5 separate regions of the Homo sapiens genome follow, and regions 2, 3, 4 and 5 are each linked to region 1. The links are contacts of gene promoters, found by promoter capture Hi-C in blood cells and fetal thymus (Javierre and others, 2016). All regions are on one chromosome and are shown on one strand. The core of a region is centred on a gene start or on the middle of the fragment in contact, and the rest is flanking DNA. Distances in the headings are between cores, read along the strand shown.

The links. Contacts are between HindIII fragments. The CHiCAGO score rates a contact against its expected background, and 5 or more counts as called.
Region 2: a contact is called between a fragment that was not itself captured here and the fragment with the promoter of BLTP2 in region 1, in 3 of 17 cell types (naive CD4 T cells, fetal thymus and activated CD4 T cells). The highest score is 5.7, in naive CD4 T cells.
Region 3: a fragment that was not itself captured here is called in contact with the fragment with the promoter of BLTP2 in region 1 in 3 of 17 cell types (activated CD4 T cells, total B cells and naive CD4 T cells); the score reaches 7.2 in activated CD4 T cells.
Region 4: a contact is called between a fragment that was not itself captured here and the fragment with the promoter of BLTP2 in region 1, in 8 of 17 cell types (activated CD4 T cells, total B cells, total CD4 T cells and 5 more). The highest score is 14.7, in activated CD4 T cells.
Region 5: a contact is called between the fragment with the promoter of DHRS13 here and the fragment with the promoter of BLTP2 in region 1, in 1 of 17 cell types (activated CD4 T cells). The highest score is 6.0, in activated CD4 T cells.

The regions. Positions count from the first base shown.
Region 1 is chr17:28,642,536-28,647,384 of GRCh38, forward strand. BLTP2 (bridge-like lipid transfer protein family member 2) reads right to left here and starts at 2,623. Exons shown (of 39, transcript NM_014680.5): 1 at 2,454-2,623; 2 at 1,523-1,652; 3 at 1,075-1,124; 4 at 629-776; 5 at 334-452. The coding sequence starts at 2,521. RefSeq lists silencers at 2,420-2,759, 2,780-3,009. The HindIII fragment of the contact is 8,883 bases long and covers 1-4,849 here.
Region 2 is chr17:28,956,856-28,961,704 of GRCh38, forward strand. SEZ6 (seizure related 6 homolog) reads right to left here. Exons shown (of 17, transcript NM_178860.5): 6 at 3,950-4,118; 7 at 3,650-3,816; 8 at 2,843-3,037; 9 at 2,479-2,617; 10 at 2,170-2,366; 11 at 1,092-1,286; 12 at 493-684; 13 at 190-387. The region is part of intron 1 of LOC105371716 (a long non-coding RNA gene); the gene reads left to right. Among named protein-coding and RNA genes, the nearest start is that of PHF12, 7.8 kb to the left of the region's middle. RefSeq lists enhancers at 2,093-2,593, 2,594-3,094. The HindIII fragment of the contact is 1,160 bases long and covers 1,493-2,652 here.
Region 3 is chr17:28,934,058-28,938,906 of GRCh38, forward strand. All of the region lies in intron 2 of PHF12 (PHD finger protein 12), which reads right to left. The region is part of intron 1 of LOC101927018 (a long non-coding RNA gene); the gene reads left to right. Among named protein-coding and RNA genes, the nearest start is that of PHF12, 15 kb to the right of the region's middle. The HindIII fragment of the contact is 7,754 bases long and covers 1-4,849 here.
Region 4 is chr17:28,917,143-28,921,991 of GRCh38, forward strand. PHF12 (PHD finger protein 12) reads right to left here. Exons shown (of 15, transcript NM_001033561.2): 5 at 4,546-4,666; 6 at 2,001-2,133; 7 at 143-307. Among named protein-coding and RNA genes, the nearest start is that of DHRS13, 16 kb to the left of the region's middle. The HindIII fragment of the contact is 5,127 bases long and covers 148-4,849 here.
Region 5 is chr17:28,900,312-28,905,160 of GRCh38, forward strand. DHRS13 (dehydrogenase/reductase 13) reads right to left here and starts at 2,768. Exons shown (of 5, transcript NM_144683.4): 1 at 2,507-2,768; 2 at 2,272-2,390; 3 at 1,182-1,305; 4 at 679-990. The coding sequence starts at 2,633. RefSeq lists silencers at 1,667-1,859, 2,361-2,990. The HindIII fragment of the contact is 5,010 bases long and covers 1,846-4,849 here.

The DNA of each region.
Region 1 (4,849 bases), core at 1,373-3,872:
AGCTACTCGGGAGGCTGAGGCAGGAGAATGGTCTGAACCCAGGAGGCGGAGCTTGCAGTGAGCCAAGACCGCACCACTGCACTCCAGCCTAGGCAACAGAGCAAGACTCTGTCTCAAAAAAAAAATTTAAAAAAAAGAGAACTTGGTCCCTTTCCTCACCACTTACCTCCAGTCAAGCTCTGGTGGCTAGAAGGGACAAGGCAATTGGAAATGTCTAATCTTAGCATCTCCTCCAACTGCACAGAATGAGAACTTAACACCTTGATAAGGAGGCCCTGAAGCAACTCTGAGGCAAGAATAGGACGGCTAGATCCTCTGCTCCCCAGTGCTTACCTTTTCCCATCACTATCCAAAAGAAATCTGCTTCTACTGATCTGAATATGCCATAAGGACTCAGAGGTATCCACCTTGAGAACCATGATGTTTATAGCATCTACATGAATGGAGAATAGCTGGAAGGAAGAAGCAAGGATGAACAATAATTAATGTTAAGGAACTGCCCTTCCTTTCCAGATGAGAAAGAGGGGCAGCTCTTAGCATTATGCCCTAAAAACAGAAAAATCTACCCATAACTCCAAAGCCAACCATGCCAAAGTACAGTCCAGGATAGCAGGAGAAGTTGTCTCACTTGGCAGAAGATCTTCAATAAGGATGGGCTGAAGGACAGTTCCTTTTGATCCACCCCAGCGCTCTGGGAGAATGGGGCAGACAGGTCAGAAACTTTCTGTAGGTCCGTTCTGATACGCACTTCTCCAAAGCACAATGCCACATAGTGTCTGCCCAGAAGAGAAATCTCACTGCCACCAGGTCCATCCCTCCCATAGCAGTCTATTCCCCACCCTCACATTCACTTTCTCATCCTTCCTAGAAATATAGCTCAAATCACAGAGATTAGTTTCATAGCAGTTATCAATATCTTCCTCACAACACAATGGCACCCAGGCTAACAGGAAGACTTCAGCAACAACCTCCCTTCCTCCTTGGATTGTGATGCCTCTGCAGAAGAGTGTCACTCTGCAAACACCAACTCCAAAGTACTCTTCTAGGGGAGAAGTGAGAATATAGGGTACTCACGGAAGATCATGGCTAAGGAGTTTGCTGGAAATCCACAGGTTATCAATTTCCTAAAACAGTGAGGGAGAAAGCTCTGTGTGCTAGCTGCTAAATAAGCCACGAGCAGCTTGACAAGCCAGGAAATGTTCTGGATTATTAGAATTTCTCTTTCATAGCCATGTTGCCTTGAATCCCATCTTAAATTAGAACAGTAAAATCTTCGATTTCCTGTTATCTTTCTTCTGTATCTTTGTTATGTGCCCTGGACACTCTGTGTCCTACAAACATTTTTAACTGAACAACTTGCAGCGTTCTCCAACTAGCTCTAAGATCATCTTGGCAAAGAAATGGCAAGGCTGGGATTAACTAGAAAAGCCACCAGGATTTCTATTTTTAAAAAAAGGAAATTAAGAGTTTAAATTCAATTGGATCAACCCTACACACATATCCAGAGTTTCCCAGAACTCACCACTGTTTGCTGGTGTTGCTGAAACTTAAGACTGACATTCTGGATCCAAAAAAAGCGGAAGGAGCCAATCTTTAGCTCCGCCTGCAGCTTCCGCTGACACCACTTGGTGGCCAACCGGACCACAAGCCACCTGCAGAAAAATTCCTGTTAATTCATAGGACCTTTTTCCAATGATGGTTTCCCTCACCCCTTGCTGGTCTTTCAAAGCCTTGCAAAAGGTCGTTCCTGAAACTGGATCTGAGCAACTCTCCTTTCTTCCAAAGCACCACTCTGTCATATACATTCAGCCACGCTGATCAAGATCCTAGCTCCCGACTGACCCCTCCACCCAGATGAAACCAGAAACTGCACCCTCTAAGTTGAAGACAAAAACAAAATCCCTCAAATTGTTATGAATCCCAGAGGCAGAGAGAGAAGACCCCAGCAAGAGTCAAAGCGGAGGCGGCTCTGTCACATGTGCCATCACACTCCCCAGAGGGTCTGTCTGTCTCCTGCTCCCACCCTCCAGACAGGTATCCACGAGAAGGCACTTTGAGGTCAGACCCGGCAGCTCGAATGCTGTTCTCCCCAGACCGATGCTGCAGGTGCCCATCGCGCTTGGCGAAAGGGACATGCAGGGGTGGGTGGAGGGGGAAAGGGAAGCCACTGAACCAGGCCCCTTCCTCACACTCCTATTCAGTTCCTGGCCTCAGCATTTCCTCAGACCCCGCCCGCTTCCTCAGTCTCCCCAACTCGCAGCCCATCCCTGGGAGCTCGGGCCACGCGCCTCCTCACGATCCCTCCCCTCGCCGCGCGCCCCCTCCCTCCACCCTACCCACTCTGCCTCACGCGCCTCAGTAAGGCGCGCGCCCCCTCCTCAGTCTTTCTTCCTCCTCTCCGCCCCCTCCCTCCCGCCGCCGCCGCCGCCGCCGGCGCGGCCGGGAACCCTCACCGGCCTAGAAAGAGGGCGCTAAGCGCAACTAGCAGCAAGACCAACAGCGCGGAGAAGAACAGAGGCATTTAGGTCCGGGTCCGGCCCGGCTTGGCCCCGGCCCCCGCCATGCCGGGCCCCGACGCCGGATCCGCGCAGCACCGCCGCGGGCCGACCAGCTGCGCGCGCAGGAGCAACGCTGAGCGAGGACGCGCTGGTGCGCACACGAGCCCCGCCTTCCGCAGCCCGCCAGCCAACCAACGGCCTCCCACCCCAGTCCCGCCCTGTCCTACGACGCTGCAGGGCCGACGGGCTGCGTGCGCGAGGAGCGGGCGTGGTTCCGGGAGGAGGGCGAGGGGGAGCGGACCAAGAGCTGAAACACGCCCCGGGCGCACACCACGGTGCCCGGAACCGCGGGGCTCGGGGACCCGCGGGGGTCGGAGTCCGGGCCCACTACCTGGGCTGGCGGTGGACCTGGCTGACTCATTTCGGTCCGGGGAGCTCACTTTGAGGGGAGTTGGAGTCCGCCTAGCCACTTAGGCCTGGACTCAGGGTTCTGCGGAAGTTACACCCCTGGTCAGACGTGGTAGCACTCCCATCTTATTCAAGATCCTGTTTGAAAATTACTGAGGCAGAAACTAGGAGGTAATTAAAAGGCCTCAAAAATCTCGCCTCATTCCATCCACAGAGGAAACTAATGAGGTTTTGTTTTTTTTTTCTTTGAGACAAGGACTCGCTACGTTGCCCAGTCTGGTCTCGAACTCCTGCAGGCTCAAGGGATCCTCCTGCCTCAGCCTCCTGAGTAGCTTGGACTAAAGACGCGTGTCACGGTTCCTGGCCAATGAGTTTTTACTTCATTTACTGTTTGAACACTGTTCTGGTCCATCTACTTATGGCACGAACTGGGCCCTGATGGAGGAGAGGAGGAGATACTGCAGAAGTAGTGAATATTGTTCTTGCCCTTTAGCAAAAAATAGTTTATCTGGGAAGCAAACATAATTACATAAAGTAGACAATACATAGTCAGTTTTGCCTGCTTCCTTCTGTGTAGTTTATCTGGGAAGCAAACATAATTACATAAAATAGACAATACATAGTTTTGCCTGCTTCCTTCTCTGTAAAATGAGAGAACAGGACAAAGGTCCCTCAGCGTTACTGTGCTAAGGATCAGTATCTGAATGATGATCTACTGATACAGCACAAGCTAAGGAAATCCTGACGGTTTCAAAATAAGTATTATGGAGGAGGTCATGTCTCTTTTCATACCCCTTCGCTCCCACGTCCTAATCTCCATATATATCCTTCAAGATTTTACTCAGAGCCTCTCTTTTTGGCTCCCTCAGATAAAACACCATTTCATCTTTCACCTGTGTGTTGCCCGAAGTTGCTTTCACTCCTCTGATTGTTTCCTCCCTTATCTATTCCTCTCTTCAGTGATTTCACATCTCCCCAAGAGCTCCAGCGCTGCTGTTTCAAGGTCATACTTACCTCTCAAGCACTGTATTTGCGTCATCTTCCTCGTCATCTGCAGCCTTCCCCCAGGGTATGTCCTCCGAATGCTCTGGGAAGGCCCAATTCACTGAAAACCTCTGTCCAAGTCAAGGAGGGGTGCCGTGCAACACGTATCCCTACTCTGGTTCATCTTATCCAATCTGTTTATTGAACCAAGATTCCTGTCACTTCCTTCCTTCTCCCTTGACTATTACCGGCCCTACTCCCAGCCATCTCATAGCCTAAAATGTTGATTTTATGATTTGTCTATTTCTTTCTGGAGAGATCTTAAGGGATCAACACAAGTGAAGTGGAATAAAGGCAGGGAGTCGGGGGTGGGGGGTGGTTGAGGCAACAGTGGGGCTCAACTAATTCATGGCCTCCATTTATTGAGACCACAAGCCCTTGTAAAAGAGACCAAGTCTTTTAACGTCACGGGCCATGTTTGGCACAGAAATGGTGTCTCTAAATGTTCAACATTAACAAAACAAATAGAAAAAAAAAGAACAAAACCCGGAAGTTTCTAAAAATAAAAAAAGCCTGCTAGTCACTGAAATTCCAGCAGATGGCAGCCATCTCCGTTCACCAATACCATGATTGGAAGCTACAGGAGCAAATTTTCTGCAATTGACACAGGAAAGGAGGAAATCAGGTAGGCAGAGGACAAAAGTAGTTTTCTATCCACCTTTTTAGAGAGATATATCTACGTTTGTCCAAAAAACAGGATTTGTTTTCCAAAAGCTAAACACAATCGTAGTGCACTTAAAAAAACCTGAGTCAGAAACAGCTGGATTCCTATTCCAAAATGATTTATTAGTTTTAAGAATTCAGGCCGGGCACGGTGGCTCACACCTGTTTTCCCAGCACTTTGGGAGGCCAAGGTGGGCGGATCACAAAAGGTCAGGAGTTCAAGACCAGCCTGGCCA
Region 2 (4,849 bases), core at 823-3,322, 310 kb after region 1:
TGTCCAAGGAGAGGCCACTCCAGCATTTGTCTTGGTGATGCCAGGTCAGAAGGATCTGGCAGAGACTGGGGAGACCAAGGGTAACATGAAGGTGGCATGGGCAGGTGGTTCTGGTTCTAAACATTGGACATCTTTGCCAGAGCAGCTCTATGGGCCAGGGAGGGTTTTGAGGGGTGACAGGGCACTCACCAGCCCTACAGATGGGTGGGGGGTCACTCCAATGCGAGGGGTGCCCAGGCACACACTTGATGCTGGCCTGGCCCTTCAGCACATAGCCAGGGGCACACGAGAAGTGGATGGTGGCCCCTGCTGGGTGTAGCTGCTTCTCAGGACTTCGGGCACCATTCTCAGGGGCACTGAGACCATGGCATGGCTTGAGCTGTTCCACTACAAAGCAGGCAGAGTGCAGTGAGGGTGTCATGCCCTTGGCCTCCAGGGCAGCATCTTTTATCTCCAGCTAGAGGTTTTCCCTCCTACTCAATTGACACTTACGGAGACATTTAGGGGCCCGGTCACTCCACTTGGGGCTGCCAGCCTGGCGATCATGGCAGGTGAGGATGGAGCTGCCCATCAGCACAAAACCCTGGTCACAGATATATTGCACGGTGGCCCCCACGGGAAACTTGGGGCTGGATATGAGGCGTCGGCTGTGCTCCACATCTCCAGGATCGTGGCAGGAAGTCACTATGGGTAGGGGGTGATGGGGAGAAGTAGCCCAAGGAGAACTAAGCAGAGGCCAATCCACCCTGGCTTTGTTCCAGGCCAGCTAACTTCTTCATGTCGTATGGGTCTACCCCCTACGTATCTGTCCCTACCATTATGCTAGTGTGTCCCCCCATTTGTCCCCTTCCCATCTATTAGGTTCGATAAAAACTGATTGGCCATCTACCAGGAATGAAATACTTAGAGTACGTGGCTGATAACCCCATGAAAAGTATCATCCCCATTTCACAGATGAGGAAACTGAGGCTATAAGAGGTGAAGGAACTTTGAAGATACTAGCTAATAACAGCTACAGTCTGGTTCAGAATCCAGGAGAGAGGTTTGGAGTTTGTGTTGGGAAGGGGAGCGTGGGGAACAGGTATACTCACCCCTCTGGCATGAGGGCAGGTCCTCACTCCAAGTTAGGTCCCACTGGCACATGAGGACACTGGATCCCACTACCTGGTAGCCAGGGTAGCACTGGTAAGTGACCACGGTGCCGTGCACTAGCTCAGGCTGCGATGGGCTCTTCCAGCCATTGGGGATCTCAGGCAGCTCCGGACATGTGTCATTGCGGGGCACCTCTGGGGGCACAGAGGCACAAGATGCAGGCCCTCGGCCAGCACCAAAGTGACTGTCCCCCTCACCTTGAGGGCACTCTGGCTCCTGCTAGTTTGTCCTGGACCTAGACTGTCCTGGGCGGGCTCAGGGATCCATTCCTCCCTGCTCAAGGGCCCCTCCTTGACTGCCTGACATTGCTCTGTCTCCTAGATTCCAGGGTTAGCATTTAAGCTTTGGCCTTACTTCCAAAAGCACCTTGACCAGTTCCTTAGGCCTGAGAGATGGGGCCAGGTAGGGTGAGGGAAATCGTCACTTCTATGAAAGATTGTCAGAAAGATAGAAGCCAGCACCTTTCCTTAGTTCCCCCATTTTTGTTTGAAAGTTGTTCTGGCCAGGTGCAGTGGCTCACACCTGTAATGCCAGCACTTTGGGAGGCTGAGGTGGGCAGATCACTTGAAGCCAGGAGTTCGAGACCAGCCAGGCCAACATGGCAAAATCCGGTCTCCACTAAAAATAAAAAAATTAGCCAGGCGTGGTGGCATGTGCCTATAATCCCAGCTACTCAGGAGGATGAGGCACGAGAATCGCTTGAGCCCAGGAGGTGGAGGTTGCAATGAACAGAGATCACACCATGGTCTGGGTGACAGAGGGAAACTGTCTCAGAAAAAAAAAAAAAGGAAGAAAAAGAAAGTTGTTCTGCTGCCTACCCAAACCCCTCTTGCCACTATAGAATTCTGGCTCTCCCTCAGGGCAGATGGAGAACAGGACTAGCTTCCTCCAGGTGATCCCTGGTGCTTTTCCAGCTTACTCTTGTCTGAGACAGCATTCAGGCACCTCACTGCCCTAGCCTCTTTGGCTTGCCATGGCTTGCTGTCTGCACTCTGAGTGGGGTAGGGACAAGCTCACCAAAGAAGTGGATGACGAAGCCCTGCTGGTAGCCCAGCACTGAGGTCCCGGGGTCCGACTGGAACTGAATGGTGACATCAGCCATGGAGGTAAAGAGCTTGAAGTGGCTACGGGGCCCTGAGTACTGGCCCAGAACCCGGGCCGTCAGGTCATCCCCATCATAGAAGGTAAGCACATCACCAGGGCCTATGCGCAGCCTGTGAAGGAGGAGCGTCAGGGCAGAGCCGGCCTGGGGGCCCGAGGATGGGCTGGACAAGGGATATCCCCAGACCTCAGGAGTTGGCTCGGCCTGACCCGGTAGGCACTCACACTCGGATGTCCAGCATGATGCGCTTGTCCTCTTCCACATGCACACCCCAGATACAATCCTGCCCACGACCGTAGGGCTCTGGCCAGTTGGGAGAGAGTACCACGCCAGCCGAGTCTGTGATCTCCCCGCTGCACACGGCTGGAAGGCAGAGGAGGCCCAGAAGGGTCTTTTCAAGCTTACCATGGTGTTGCTTACCATCTGCCCGCAGGAGTGCCCACAAATTGCTGGGACCCCCCACCTCCTCCTTGGAGGAAGCCTGAACCACGCATATCACAGGGCCCCTGTGGCCCCGGGCTCTGCTGCTATTCTCCTGGTATGACCCTGCCTTTTGCCCGGTAGGCCCATCCACTGGTGTCTACTGACCTCGGCAGGCTGGCTCTGTCTCATTCCACTGGGGGTCGTGGGGGTCAACACACTCGATGATGATGGAGCCCTGCTCCAGGGTGTAGCCAGGGTCGCAGCTGAACTCCACAGTGGTACCCACAGGGTAGGTGGGTGTGCTGCTGCTGAAGTTACCGTATTTGACAAAGGGCTCATAGCAATGGCCCTGCTGGAAGGCTGTAAACCACAGGTCCCAGCCCAGCTCAGCCTTGACTGGTATTAAACACAGTGGGCAAGCATCCCCCTACTTCCCTCCCCAGAGCCTTTCTTTTCCTGGGTACGAATGACAAATATATGTCCTGGGGTTGGAGCAGGAATGTGATGGAGGAGGGACAGCCAAGAGCATCCATCCCTATTATGCTCAGGAGGCCATCTTGATTACCATCCTGTTCCCACTGCCTGGTTTTGTGCTTAGTACACAGAAGGTACTCCATACATGTTTTTTGAATGAATTAATCAATGCATGCATGCATAAATGGTTCTAGAATGTCTCTTACAGCAATTCTTTCTTAAGGGTTGAGGCCTTTTTTGCTTTTCAAAATCTGGAGAATTTATTCCCTTGGACCATAGGGCCTGGGTCCAGGCAGAGGTTTCCTGCAAAGCTGTGGTAGGGATCCCGGACCCAAAGAGAGGGGCAGGGAAAGGGGGCCTAAGTACTGAGTGAGCAGGGGCTGACTTGGAAGGAGTGACAGCATGGAGGCAGAGAGGGGTAGGGTGTGGGAGAAAGACCCTAGGCCCGAGCCCATCCCCGTGGACCCGCCACCCCCAGTGAGGCCCCAGCAGGCTCACCCTCATAGCGCAGGGCCATGCCTGCAGCTGCCCCGCTGCTGTCAGTACTGAGCTCAACAAAGAAGTGTTTGCCAGAGCTGAGCAGGCCCTCAATGGGCAGGTATTCCACCTCATAGGAATCATACACTGGTGGGGCCTCCACGTTGTCCCCATTGCGAATGATGAGCCTGAACCAGGAGAGTGGCAGCTATGTAGGCTGGTGGCTGACCCAGATGGGGTGTGGCCCCAGGCTTGGGTAGCGTCCCTCCAGCAGGGTATTACCAGGCCAGGCACTCCCATTCCACTAGGACAGCCCCTCACCTGTCATCATCCTCTGCCAGGGAAACCTTCTCAAAGTGCAGGTGTAGCCGCTGGCCCTCAGGAGCCTCAAGCAGCCAGTGACAGGTGAGGTTGTTGCTGTAGTTGCCCGGGAAGCCTGGAGAGACGATGCGGCCGGTGGTGGCATTGCGGATCACTCCGCCGCAAGCAGCTGTTAAGACCAGGACAGGACGTAGGCTAGGCCCCTGCCTGAACCCAGGCAGCCTAACATGCCTTCCTCCCTATCCCAGCCCTATATCCTCTGCTTGGAGCAGCGGGGACCTTGCCTCCCTGCCATCTTGGCCCTCATCGTCCTGAAGGTCAACCTTTTAGCCCTGTGAACCTGCATCTCCAGGCAGCCTGAGCTCCAGAATCCTGCCGCCTAACCTTTCACACCCCTGGGACTGACCAGGGTAACTCTCTTGACTGTGGGTAGATGTATCACTGCCTGGTTGTGTGCCCAGGTAAGTCACTTTCCCTCTCTGCTGACTTCTCTAGAAGGCCGACTCTCCCTAGGTAGACTTTACTAAAGCCCTTACTGTGGGCTTCAACCTTCTTGGATACATCTGCTACTTCTACCTCATGCCACTTTCCTAAAATCAGTTGTTTGGGTATGTCCCTTAACTAGGACCCCCTGGAGCAGGAACCAGGTCTTTCCAGGCCAGGCACAGAGTTGGTGTTCAGCGTTGGTTGAATAAAATGAGTGAATGAATGTAAAAAGGGGTTAGCACTAGATCCGGGCGGCAAACACCTGATGTGCATGCCATCCGCCCCGGCCTCACTACCACTGCCGTTCCTGGGCTGACTGACCTTTCTAGTGCTGACCCTACTGGCTTGGGGCTGTCCTCTCTTTCTAAGGAGAGACTGAACAGTTTGCCTATGGCTATCTGTGAGGATTGCTGG
Region 3 (4,849 bases), core at 621-3,120, 290 kb after region 1:
AGCCTTGGGGAGAGAGGATCAAAATCATCCATCCACTCAAAAATTATTGGATGTTTATTTTAGGCTAGACAATGTGCTAAGTGCTGGTATTTCAGACATGGTTCTTGATTTTAGGGATCATGGGCTGGAGATAAGGTGAAAAGGACATGCAGTAATGAGAACATACATAATCAACTACAAACTGATTCTTACCATAAAGACCCACATAAAACTCAATTACTTATGGATGCCAGAATCAATGAAGAGCCCCAAAGTTTGGACATTTGGTACCTGAAGGTGACATGCGATTTTTTCCTACTCTTTTCATAATTCAGAGCTATTTAACAAATGGTAATTCAGCCAGTGAGCCTTTAAAGACAGTGAAGTTAAGGATCGTGAGGAGTTCAGGAGGAAGCCATAGTTTCAGAAGCAGGTATATTTCTGCATTTTGATAAAATACCTGATAAAAGGAAGGTTCTAGCAGTGGAGACATTTCTTCTGAAAATGAATGTTTAAGTCTGTCTAGAGCACAATAGTGTTTGAACCTTTCTTTTCTTTCTTTTTTTCTTTTCTATTTTTTTTTTTTTTTTTTGAGATGGAGTCTTGCTCTGTTGCCCAGGCTGGAGCGCAATGGTGCGATCTCTGCTCACTGCAACCTCTGCCTCCCGAGTTCAAGCAATTCTCCTCTGGAGTAGCTGGGATTACAGGCACCCGCCACCACGCCCAGCTACTTTTTGTATTTTTAGTAGAGACAGGGTTTCACTATCTTGGTCAGGCTGGTCTCGAACTCCTGACCTAAGGTGATCTACCCGCCTATGCCTTCCAAAGTGCTGAGATTACAGGCGTAAGCCACTGTGTCCAGCATGTTTGAACCTTTAGATTCCTTCTGAGAATTATCTGAGTACTTGGGATGGTGAGCTCTGGAATAGTTGTCTTCTGTACCTGAACTGGCTTGTCTTGGAAAACTGGTAGCTTTTTAGCCAACAAGCCAAGGACCTCTACTTTATTTTCTGGCTTCAAAAGAGCATAGCCTGCATTGCTATGAGACATGCATTCTTTTCCATAGGCAGAGATGACAGTGCCCTATGAAGACAGAGCTCTTGCAGAGTATCTTCCCATTTTCACTGCTGTTGATAAATTTCCTACCAGATCATTTGTTAAAAGGCCCTGGCCTACAATTCCTGGCCAGAAAGCGACCGTTCACTGCTTTTACAACTCACTATTTTATTTTATTTATTTTATTTTTTTATTTTGAGATGGAGCCTCACTCTGTCGCCCAGGCTGGAATGCAGTGGTGCGATCTCAGCTCATTGTAGCCTCTGTCTCCCGGGTTCAAGAGATTGTTGTGCCTCAGCCTCCTGAGTAGCTGGGATTACAGGCATGCACCACCACACTGGGCTAATTTTTGTCTTTTTAGTAGAGATGGGGTTTCACCACGTTGGCCAGGCTGGTCTTGAACTCCTGACCTCAAGTGATCCGCCCTCCTCAGCCTCCCAAAGTGTTGGGATTACAGGTGTGAGCCACCACTCCTGGCCCCAGCTCACTATTTTAACCACTACCTGATCTTAAAGACATGCTGTTAGTTATAAAGCTGTTCATAACAGTAAAGCCCTAAATCTTCAGAGACTGTACATTCAATTGGAGGGTATGTTTCTCAGTTTGGTGTGGCTCTCTGTGAGGCCTAGAGGGCCTACAAAGTGTTAAGAGTAATATTAACATACAAACCAATTCCTAAAGCCAACCTCTTCAGCATGACTCCAACATACCTAGACTCCCATAAACAAATCCAAATGGCCCATCTCTACTGCTGAGAAGGTTATCTAGATCAGTCTATTTCTGGAGTCATCAAGGAGAAAACCACAAACATACATCCCTCAGCTAACTGTAATGCCTATACTGACAGATTTCTGTTTCAAAGATTCAAATCGAAGCCCAGAGCCAGATGATCCCAACTCTCAGCCCGAGGTTAAAGTTCAGTTTTAATTTAGAATGCCTTGCATTCACTAATAAGGCTGCAGCTCAACACTGCAAGTAGAAGATGTTGGTAGTTGTCATGGTTCTTGGCGCTCTAATTAAGAGGATCTATTTCAAGTCATATACCAGTGTGGTTGATCTGAGTCTAACCTCACTCATCTCCCTCGCCTATTAATACATGTGAACCTGCACGACATTAACATTTACTTCAGATTTAGTCGCTACCAGTGGGACCTGTTGCTCCACAGCACCATGTTAATTATCCATCCAGAACAAGCAGTTTCTCAGTCTGGAATTGGAGGGGAGAGCGGGGGATGGGGGAATAAGAGAACAAAGGGAAGAGGCGAGAGGTAGAGGGAGAGAAAGCAAGTAGATGAAAAATATTTAAGAAAAAGTACACTCCATTTTCTCTTTCTGGATTAACAAAATAATTCTATTTAATACAAATACTTAACAGGAACACTATGTAAATAGCATATCCATATACAATACACCAACAGCCTACTAAGCAGGTTCTCTTCCAAAAGAGGTCAGTCACATGAACTGGTAGGGTCTTTCTTGTCAGAACCCGTAATTCTTCAGGAATCAGAAGCTCTCTAGCCATCTATAGCAGTTTCAGTTTCAGTCAAAATAAAACATCAGTTGGACTAAAAAGAAAGAGTTCACTGCCCCTATCATCATCTGTATGCCTCCCCACCCTTTTTTTTGGTGGGGGAAGAGGTGTTCAGCAAGCAAACAATAGGACTGAGCAGTTTTGATTTTTAATTTCACAGTTCACGGGGCTCATCCATCCATCTGAGGACCACTACCAGATAAAAATCCTGCAATTATATTTAGTCTCACTGTGTAAGACAAACTGCAAAACATAAATACATGCTCAGAACTAGCCTACTCTCCCTCAGACTGGCCCTGCGGCCCTCATCCAGCTCAGAAAATGTGTTGATACTAGCCAAAATGGGGAGTGAAGGTGATCACTGAAAGGACCACAATCATGTCTCAGCCTCCTAGCAGCCATTTTGCTCTATAAAGGGAGCCATGAGCACAGAGAACCAGCCTTTTATAAACGAAAACAAACTTATGTCCTGGAAAAGCTAAGTGGTGCTGGGTAAAGTTTAATTTAAATTTTAATTTAAATTAAAAGTTGCATTAATACACCCAAATTTTAAAGTGCATGCCTTGAGGGAACAACATTTAATGAAATGTAAATGTCAGCAGAAATAGCTAGCTTCCTCTGGACACTTGTGTGGGCATCAGCTTTTCTCTTCAAGTATGGCCTGTCTTTTGCAGGAAGATAGCTATATTGAAGGATATTAAAGAGATGGAAGGAGAAAATTCATAGGGTCCCTCAACCTTAATCCCTTATCCTCCTTCATCCTGGCTACTGACTCAAACACCACTAATGCCACAAAGTACATAAAAAGGTACAAGGACTGTTGGGTTTCTCATGCAAAGCCTCAGTGAGAGTGTTAACAAGGAAACAAATGAAGTGCCAGAACATTACAAATGCCCCATTGAGAAACTTAGCTAGTTGCGTCACTTCCACAGGCAAACAATCCTTTTAAACTGGCTGACTGTGCCCCCAAGTTTTATCGCCTTCTATGTAGAGCTGGCTGGTGGCATCTTCCCGGTAAAGGACACCTGGATACGAGTGTTACTAGTTAGTACAGGGAAAAAAGGAAGCAGGGAGGGTAGAGCACTGACAGTTATACCAGGTGTTTGCCTCTGCTAACTTTTCTACAAGCTGAGCCTCAGTCTCAAGGGCCTGATCTATCACTAGCCTGGTTTGGCTATTCTTGCAATTCTGGCTTCTCTACAAAGAAAGATGGGCTGGGGTGCAAACATTTTAAAAAGGGCCTTCATTAATTCACCTCATGATTGATGCTAGAGCCCACCTGTTTTGGAAAAGGGACAAAATTCTGGCCTCAACGGTAATTTTCTCACACTCTTGGGAACATTCCATTGGAAGGAAGAACCAACAACTGCCAACTCTGTATTCTGGAAGAGTCTCAGAGGTATGGAAAGCTGGGTACTATTCTATTGCCAAATTTTAACAGACTATCAAGAAAAAGGAAATAGCCAGGTGACACACTTCTTGCAGACACAGCTCAGGAATGTGGGCCAGTTTACAGTTTATATATATTGTACCTAAAATTCTATAAAGGCTCAGAAAACAAAAAATACTAACAATGTATTTAAAACCCAACAAAATCAAGAGAGCAGGTTTCTTTCTTTCTTTTTGAGATGGAGTCTCACTCTGTCATCCAGGTTGGAGTGCAATGGCACCATCTCAGCTCACTGCAACCTCCGCCTCCCGGTTCAACTGATTCTCCTGCCTCAGCCTCCTGAGCGGCTGGGATTACAGGCAGGCACCACCACACCCGGCTAATTTTTGTATTTTTAGTAGAGACGGGGTTTCACCATGTTGGTCAGGCTGGTCTTGAACTCCTGACCTTGTGATCCGTCCACCTCAGCTTCCCAAAGTGCTAGGATTACAGGTGTGAGCCACCGCACCCAGCCTGAGAGCAGGTTTCTACTTAAGACCCAGCTGCTTTTTCCTAAGGAGGGACTTTGGTTTAATTTACCCTCCCCTGACAGGGTCTATAGAAACAGGAAAAAGTGAGAATAATACTATTTGGGCCATGCCAGCACAGGGATTATACCCCCCTACTTTTACCCTTACCCTCTCCCATCCCCCAATTCCACTCATAAACATCAAAGCTCCCCACCCTACAGGACTGAAGTAATCTCCTGGGCATGCTGTCAAACTGTGCTGTCATGGTTTGATGCCACAGCTAAGTGCTGACTTGGGCTTCCAAAGCCTTCCAGTTATACCCACCAGTGACCTATTTATGAGTTGAACATACTTCTCCAGAGCCATGATTTTCCCCTTTGGTCC
Region 4 (4,849 bases), core at 1,461-3,960, 270 kb after region 1:
GTCACACTCATTACTCACGAGACACCACAAACCTATTTCTGGGGCTTCAGTTTCCCTGCCTGTAAAATTGGGACAGTGATCCTCTGTCTAACCCATGATGGCAGGCAGACTACCATCTTGCCTGCACCTGATTGTGACTCACCTTCAAGCTTCTTCTTTTGACCGACTGGAGCACACGCCGGTTAGGGGGGTGCTTCTTGTGGATTCGGTTCAGGAAGTCCACTTTGACGACATGCTGCGAAACGGTGTCCTGGAAACGATCAAACACCTGGCACCGATTGCTCAGTGTCATATTCTTCTGGTTCAGCTAGGGACAAAGCAGACACAACCTTGTGGTGAGCCTCAAAAGGCACCTCCTATCCCAGTTAACCCCATTCCCTGTGTTTAAAAACTAGAAGCCCTCAGCCACATAGGTTCCCTCAATTAGGGACCAGGATGTCGGCACTCTTTGTCAGAGAGCAAGGGAACATGGATGAGACTTCCTACTCAGCCCTGCCCAGTCCAGTGGAAGAGAGCCAATATGTTCCTGTTCCCTAGAGAGCCTTAAGGAAGGCAGGAGAAATTAGCCAAGACGTGCCCTTCCAAATTCGGCCTCTGACAGTCTTCTGTTCCAGCTCAGAGAAGCCTCTGTCAGGGCCCTCTAATAGCAGCACAGGTTTCAGAGAAGACGTATGCTTCGACCCTTAAGAGACCCACACTCCCTTCCCAGGAAGGGCCTCTCTCTAATAGGAAAAGCAGGACTGTGTCCTACATAGGAGCTTGGCTGACAACTGGGTCAGAACCAGAAATCCGTGTGCTCTGCTCTACTCCTACTCCGTGGTACCAAGGAGCATAAGTTAACCCATCTTGATATCAGTCTTCCTCTACTGGAAGGGAAAACCTTGGATTGCTCTTAGAAGCCAAAAGGAGAAAAGAAAGAAGAGTTTCTGCAATAATATACGAAGGCATACAGAAATTATGCCACTTTTCCTATTCTACATCTGGGCTCCTACATTTTAATTCAAAAGAAAGGACCTGCTGTGGCAGCTGCCTAATTCATAAATCAGGAAAAACCTTTAAGTGGCTAACAAAAATTTAACCCACTAAGAATTTCTCAACTGCTAGAAAGCTGCTCTTTAAGTTTCACATTTGGGTAAACTGCTTATGGTCATTTTTTTTCTGGTTCATCAGGAAGCAAAACAAGACTAGGAGAGAAACAAGGAAGCAAAACAAGACTAGATTTTCCTCCTAGAAAAATCTTTGACTGGCATGAGTCAAAAGAACACAAAGTAACTCTTCTCTTCCATGTGTGCAAGTCTTTAACCGAGGTTCCTCTCAGTGCAAGGTCAGCAGCACACTGCCATGAAGGCCAACGGTCATTCCATGGTTATCATCATTTGACAGACAATGTCTTAAGCAGTAGCCTTTTTAATTTGGAAGGCTGCTCTTATGAGGGAGCTCCTCCTCCTCAAATCCTCTCCCATTCAATCTTGTGAGTGACTGTTCTAACTGCCTATAAAGAGATGTCCTAAACTTCTTTTGGAGATAGCAAGTGACAGCTCTTTTCTAGCCTCAGTCTGGAAAATAAACCCAAGACTCTTGGAAGAGAAAGCAATAGGACCTTCACACTATTATTCATTCAACAGCTTATTTACTAAACTTCATTTGGTGCCTGGGACACATGTACCCCAGACAGCCAACGATTTATTTCCTTAAGGTTGGATCTAATATACTCCCCTTTTAGGGCTATAACATCAACTGCTTAATTCCCTATAAGTCACTTACAAACAACCAAGCACTAGTGAGTTAAGTCTGTATGGGCAGCTGAAACAAAACATTGTGAGAAAAAGCATAGCTGAAATATGTCAAAATGATCAGAATTGAGTAGGGTGGCCTGCAGAAACCAGTACCTATGACAATGTGGTGAACTTGGCACCAAGCTGACCTTAATATGCTTTCTGCTAATCAGTCCACGCTCCAGCTATGCCCATTGAGGACTGAATGGACACTGCTGTGCTTACCACCACATGTTCGATGTGATTCGGACACATCCATCTGCCCAGGGGCATGGCAGTGAGCGGCGGCTCGAGGCAATCCATGTGAAACAGGAGAGGGCAATAGTCACACTGGATGAGAGGAGCCACACGGCAACTCCTGCAAAAAAGAGATGTTGGCCATTTCTGTGGCAAGAAAAGGAAAATTCAAACTAACTTTGACCTGTGGAACAGCCTCCCCTCCTTGATCCTAACATTCTCCCCTCCTTGATCCTAACATTCTCCCCTATCTTCCTCCAGTGATTCAGTTACATTTATGATTAGAAAGATGGATGGGGCTGGTGCGATGGCTCACGCCTATAATCCCTGCACTTTGGGAGGCCGAGGTGGGCGGATTGCCTGAGGTCAGGAGACTGAGACTGAGACTAGCCTGACCAACATGGTGAAACCCTGTCTCTACTAAAAATACAAAAAATTAGCTGGGCGTGGTGGTGGGCACCTGTAATCCCAGCTACTCGGGAGGCTGAGGCAGGAGAATTGCTTGAACCTAGGAGGCCGGAGGTTGCAGTGAGCCAAGATGGCGCCACTGCACTCCAGCCTGGGTGACAGAGAGAGACTCTATCTCAAACAAAACAAAACAGAACACAACAAAACAAAAAAACAACATGGATGGATTTGGGGGCTCCCATTAGGTTCTTCATTATTCTCTCTTCTAAGAAGAACATGTCTTGCGGGAAAGTGAATGTTTATTTGGAGTACAGCTAAAGTGGCAGAGTAGGGATGATCAATGCTCAGTACTCACTAGGGGAAAACAGTGAACTCTGCTCTGATCTTCCTACTTCTTAAAAGAGAGAGCCTACTTCATTAAAAAAATCACTAGCAACCTTTCTGGAGTCTTAACTATAGCAAGAAAATATTTCTCTTCTGCATGAAGCACTCAGCAGAACTGACAATTAGAGGTGTGCTGGAAAGATGATTTTGTAATGTATTCATGTAAGCAGGGTTCAAAAGAGGACTAAGCAAATGACAACTACGATTTGTAACTACAATACTCCTGGGGTCCCCAAGATGCACTGGAGCCACAGTTTGTCCTGGCTCAGAGTTCTGCCACTCTACTATCTAGTTCCCTTTCCCTATACCTTTTGCTGTGAAACATTTCTTTTTGATAGTTACTTTCTCTTGCTACCCTGCTCTGACCATAATACAGTCCTTCTAACACACCCAAGCCAACAAGTCCAGCTTCAGTAACTGAAGCAGCTGGTTTCTGTCAAAGAGATCCTATTTGAAGGAAACCAGTGTCCCAGAGACTATAACTGGGGCAGCCCTAGGGGCTTTTGGAAGTCATCCAGTCCAATACACACTATCATAGATCCTTATACTACTTTTAAACTTATCTTTAGTGATTCAAGTTAATGTTTAGTTTAAGTCCAACTCCTCTTGTTCTAGTGTGTAAACACAGTTTTTTTGAGATGGAGTCTTGGTCTGTCACCAGGCTAGAGTGCAGTGGCGTGACCTCAGCTCACTGCAACCTCCGCCTCCTGGGTTCAAGTGATTCTCCTGCCTCAGCCTCCTGAGTAGCTGGGACTACAGGTGCGTGCCACCACACCCAGCTAATTTTTGTATTTTTAGTAGAGATGGAGTTTCACCATGTTGACCAGGATGGTCTTGATCTCCTGACCTCATGATCTGCCCGCCTCGGCCTCCCAAAGTGTTGGGATTACAGGCGTGAGCCACCACACCGGGCCATTGTTTTTATTTATTTTTATTTATTTTTTTGAGACGGAGTCTTGCTCTGTCGCCCAGGCTGGAGTGCAGTGGCGCGATCTTGGCTCACTGCAAGCTCCGCCTCCCAGGTTCATGCCATTCTCCTGCCTCAGCCTTCAGAGTAGCTGGGATTACAGATGCCTGCCACCATGCCCGGCTAATTTTTTTTTGTTTGTTTGAATTTTTAGTTGAGACAGGGTTTCACCATGTTAGCCAGGATGGTCTCAATATCCTGACCTTGTGATCAGCCTGCCTCGGCCTCCCAAAGTGTTGGGATTACAGGCATGTGCCACAGCGCCCGGCCCCTTGTTTTTGTTTTAAAATACAGGGTCTCGCTCTGTTGACCAGGCTGGAGTGCAGTGGCGTGATCACAGTTTAGCCTCCAGGGCTAATCTGCTTAAGCCTCTGGAGTAGCTGGGACTACAGGTGCGTATCACCATACCTGGTTCATTAAAAAAATTTTTTTTTGTAGAGACAAGGTTTCACTGTGTTGCCCAGGTTGGTCTCAAGCTCCCAGGTTCAAACAATCTGACCGCCTCGGCCTCCCAGATTGCTGCGATTACAGGCATAAGCCACCGTGCTCGGCCTCAACACAGTTCACAGTACTCCTGTACTGTGATTCTTCAGAAAATTTGTTAACACATACACATTCAAGGCTCTCGTCAGTCCATTAGTTAGTCTCCATGTACTCATACTATCAGAATATGGGCTGTTCACATTTAACATACATGGTCTGGAAGAGGTGATGAGAGAAAAAGTATCATCTGCTAAATAATGAGAAAGAGCCCCTTAGTATGAAAGAAAATACCTGTTACACGTGAAGCAGACTTTGACGGGTAAGGGAACGAGACCATTGTGATCTAATTCATGCTGTGTCTTCTTAACATTTTTCCCTGTGGTTTCCTCCTTTCTTCTCCTCTTGCTAGAACCTAGAAAAGAAAATGATGGTGCTGAGCTATCCCTGGCTTCAGAGTTCCTAGCCTGCAATATGGAAACAACATTAAGTGACAAAAACAGATCTTAAGCATGTGTCATGGCCTAAGCATGAATTGCTCTCTGAGGCCCCTGGGGTTGATTTTAAGTTAGAAAAAAGAAAGATTAGGGAGGAAAAA
Region 5 (4,849 bases), core at 1,518-4,017, 260 kb after region 1:
AGCCACCGCTTCCAGCCCCTCTGCACTTATTATTTGCACTGTTCTCTCTTTTTCTGGGCATCTCCCCAGTGAGCCATGTATCTTTCAGACCTCTGTTCAAATGTCACCTTTATAGATATGTCTTCCTTGACTGCCACACCATATTCCCGTTCCATTTGCCCCTTGCTGTTTCCTTTTTCCTCAGAGCACTCTATCACCACCCCTCATCGTATATATTTATTGGCTGTCTCCCTCTCCTCCAAACTAGAATGCAAACTCTATGAGGGCAGGGTCTTTGTTTTGTTCACTGCTATATCCCCAGCACTGCAAGTAATGCCTGATACAGAGTAGGTACTCGGTAAATGCTTCTTGGATGAATTATTAGCTATCATCATCATCATTATCAGTTCAGTCAGTGCAGATGGCTCCTGGGGGTGGGAATCCAGGTCTTATTCATGGCCATATACCCCCCAGGGCTGAGGACCCAGGCTTGTGGTGTGAGAGGAAGAACCTAAACCAGGAGAACCTGGTTCCAAGAGCAGCAAGGAACAGGTCTCTCCTTGGACTATGCTTCCTTGCTGCCCTGAGATTCTGTGACTCAATGAGGGATGGAGGGTGGGGAGGCGGTAGTGGTGTGGGGGGCACAGGATGGGGCAAGGAAAGGAGAGGGGAATCGGAAGCCAAAGAACCAGACCTCACCTGGGTGGGCTGCATAGCAGGTGACGCCAGTGGCCTCAAGCTGGTTGGCGAGCTCCCGGGCAAACAGTACATTAGCCAGCTTAGTGTCAGCATATGCCCGCAGCTCCTGCCGCCAGCCCACCACTGGGCGGTCCAGGCGTTTGAAGTCAAGACGTCCCCGACAGTGGGCAGCTGAGGCTACCACCACCACGCGGCTAGGGGCACATGCCTTCAGGCAAGGCAGCAGCAGATGTGTCAGCAGAAAGGGACCGATATGGTTCACCCGAAGCAGCAGGTTAAACGCCTCACGGGTCCGGCCACAGGAACTGATACCTGGGGCAGAGGCTAAATGTGAGCGGCTGCTCCAGAAGGAGCTCTGCAGCCTTGGCATCCCTATCTATGAGATGGGAGAAGGGGGCATCCTTCCCATGTGTCCACTGGCCCCAGCAGGGCCCCCGCTGGAGGGGGCAGTTGCCCCTGGCCACCCGCCACCCCACCCCCACGCAGGGCCTGCTGCCCCTCACCGGCATTGTGGATGAGGATGTCCAACCGTGGCTCAGAGCTCAGAAAGGCAGTGGCAAAGGCCCGCACCGAGGCCAGACTGGCCAAGTCCAAGGCCATGAAGATGACCTCATTGTTCCCACTCTCCTGTGGAGAGGCAAGGGCTGGGCTTGTCACCAGGCATCTCTCTCCTCTTCCCTCTCCCCAGGCACCAAATTCTGAGAGTCCATCTCCTACTGTTTACTAAAATCTGCCCCTGTGTCTTAGAGTGTACTAGATAAGTGTGTGGATTCAAATCCTGACTTTGCCTTTTACTAAAGTGTGACCTTGGGCAAGATACTTAATCTCTCTGGGTCTCAGTTCTCTCACTGCGTAAAGGGAATAATAATAACAACAGTCCCAATCTCACTGAGCTTTTGTGAGGATGAAAGGAGTTAACGTGTAAAATACACTCTAGCAGCACTGGGTAGGTACTTGCTATTATTATTATCACCTCCTTTCCCCATTACCATTTACCCTAAAATCTGTAACTTCTCACTGGTCTCCTCTCTCCCGCTCTTGCCCCCCCACTCCAGGCACCACGCAGCCACAAAGGAGTTCCTTCCAAAGGCTATTCTGACAGTCCGGAGCCTACTGAGGGCTGTTCATGGTCTCCACTGGTCTCTGCTGCCCAATCTATAAAATCCAAGCTTCTCAATAGGCTCTAGAATGTTCTCCAGCCCCCTCATTTGCCCATCTTCCTCATACTTTGTGCTCCAGCCTCATTAAATCTTTTTCTCAGTTTTTCAGATCAGTCCAGCTCTCTTTGCCTCAGAGCCTTTGCTTATGCTGTGCCCTCTGCTGTTCCCTTTCCTACTGATCATTAACCCAACTTCTACTGATGCTTAAACGTCTCAGAACTGCAATTACGGCCTTCAGGAAGCCCCTCCCCCACTCGGCTCTGGTGCGCCTTCCTCGGGTGACCCCAGCGCTCCGTGCACTCCCTCTTCGCGCTCAGCCGCCCGCGCCGCGCTCTCCTCCCTGGACCCGGATCCTCCGCAGCCCCTTTGCTGGCTTCTCTGTGTCCCGGCGGGTTCTCGGCTCACCGTCCCACGCGCCCCCGCTGCCTCTCACCTGGCGGAGGTCGAAGGCAGCCGCCTCCCCGCGCTCCTGGCTGCGGCAGGCCAGCACCACGCGCGCTCCCCGGCGCGCCAGCTCCAGCGCCGTCATCTTTCCGATGCCGCTGTTGGCGCCTGCGGACCGCGGGCGGGAGCCGAGCTGAGCTGAGCCCGGCGGGCCGCTGCTACCGCCGGCCCGGCCTCCTCTCCGCGCGCCCCGCCAGCTCGCACTCACCCGCCTCCGCACTCACCCGTGACCACGGCCGTGCGGCCCCGCAGGTTGCCCATGCCGCCGCACGGCGGGGCCTTCACCAGGTTGTAGTAGACAAGCACGTAAGCGCCCAGCAGCAACCCCGCGCCCAGCAGCAGCGCCTCCATGCCGGCCGCGCCTCCCGGCTCCCGCCCAGGCCCCGCACCGCCCTGGATCGCCGCCAGGCGGCTGCCGATCCGCCCTGCACAGGCCTGGAACGGCGCCCGGGCGCGTCAGCCTCCGAAGGCGGAGGCGGGCAGGAGGCTGGGCAGGGGCGTGTGCGCGTGCGGGTGCGCGCCGGCCCTGCGAGCGCCCCCTAGGCGTGCGTCGGCGTCCTGGGGGCGTGTGCCTCTGTGGACACCTTTGAGGTGAGTGTGTGCGCTTGGGCCCTGGGAGCGCCCCCTAGGTGTGTGCCTGTGTGAACTCCTGGGTGTGTGTGTCCACGTACACCCTGTGAGTGCACGCTAGGTATGTGCATGCATCTGCAACGCTTGTATGTGAATGATCTCTAGGTGTGTATGTGCCCATGTCCCTGAGGATCACCCTTTGGGTTGTGTGCGTGCCTCTGGATCCTGTGTGTGAGCTCCTGTAAGCACCTTGTAGGTGTTTGTGTGCATTCTGGCAGAGTCCCTCCAGGTATGTGCCTGCATCTGTAGTCTCTGCCAGTGCATGTGCTTGCATATCTCCATATGTTTACTCGAGGTGTATGTAGCACAGTCCCTCCCTTCTGAAGTTAGGTGTGTACATGAATACACGTGTGTCTTTGAGTCTAGTCCTAGATGCTTTTCCCTCTAAGAACAAATCCTTCTCCTTCCTTCCCTTCTGCACAAATCCTTCTCCTTTCCTTCCTTTCCTTTCCTTCCTTCCTTCCTTCCTTCCTTCCTTCCCTTCCTTCCTTCCTCCCTTCCTTCCTTCCTTCCTTCCCTCCCTCCCTTCCTTCCTTCTTTCCTTTCTTTCTTTCTTTTGAGACGGAGTTTCACTCTCGTTGCCCAGGCTGGAGTGCAGTGGCGTGATCCCGGCTCACTGCAACCTCCGCTTCCCGGGTTCAAGCAATTCTCCTGCCTCAGAATCCAGAGTAGCTGGGATCACAGGTGTGTGACACCACACCCGGCTAATTTTTGTATTTTAGTAGAGAAGGGTTTTCACTATGTTGGCCAGGTTGGTCTCAAACTTCTGACCTTAAGTGACCCACCTGCCTCAGCCTCTCAAAGTGCTGGGATTACAGGTGTGAGCCTCTGCACTGGGCCAAATCCTTCGTTTTCTTATCTTCACATCCAGCCCCCAGCTTCTAGGATTCTTCCGTGTTCTCCCCACACAGGCTAGAGAGGACACTGTTAAAGGTGGCACAGGCAGTTAAGGGGTGTCAGAATTCACTCCTTCATTCCCCCTCTGTATCTCCCTACCTCAACCCCACTAGTGCCTTCCATGGCTGAAGGGAAGCAGGAAGAGATAGAGAGTAAAATCTGTTATTGCCTTTCAGGAGGAAATTTGCCTTTGGAATGGTTCTCATAGGTGATAAGAGACAGGCAGAGAAGCTCCATCACTCAATTACAAGTGACCATGATGGCAGGAAGGGTGGGGCTGGCTAGGAACAAATGGGTAAGACCATTCCAGGGCAGAAGGCCGTTGCCTGATACATTCAGTACAATTTAGAACCTGGTATTTGGCACTTATGGTGTGCCCAGCAGTGTAGTTAGACTTGGAAATTCCGAGTGGAAGATATACAAGTTTCTGTCCTTAGGGAGTTCAAAAAGCCCATTAGGGCACCGGGAGCAGAGTGATGACGCCTGCATGGGCAGATGAAAGTCAGGGACAGACCTCAGATTCCAGGGCCAGTTTCCTATTTAGCTGCACTGCGGATTCGGGTTTCCATTGTAGATGCTGTGGGATGAGGCTGGGGGTAGAATATTCATTTTCTATCCCTAAGGCAAAATCCTGACACACAAGCAGATGCACCTACACAAACAGTGCTGGAATATACACAGAGGTGCTCTCCATCTGAGGAGGCTGACCTCAGGAAAACTTCCTGGAGAGTTTTTCACTAAGATCTGGGAGGAAAGCATGGAATTTGGTTTAATGAAGGTCCCCGGGACTTGAGAATTAAGGTAATGCAGCAGACTCGTTTTTTGATGAGGAATAGCAGTTGTAGAGAAGTGTGACTGCAGATCACATGACTAGAAGTGACAGGTCAAGACTAGATTCCACTATCAGTCAGGGTTCTCTGGAGAAACAGCTCCCCCCGGGCCAGCAGACGCACCCATGTCATTCCATTGTCATCCACCCACCCTGGCTCACTTTTCTCCAACACCTCCCCTACCAAACTTCCCTATGGGAATGAGACCTG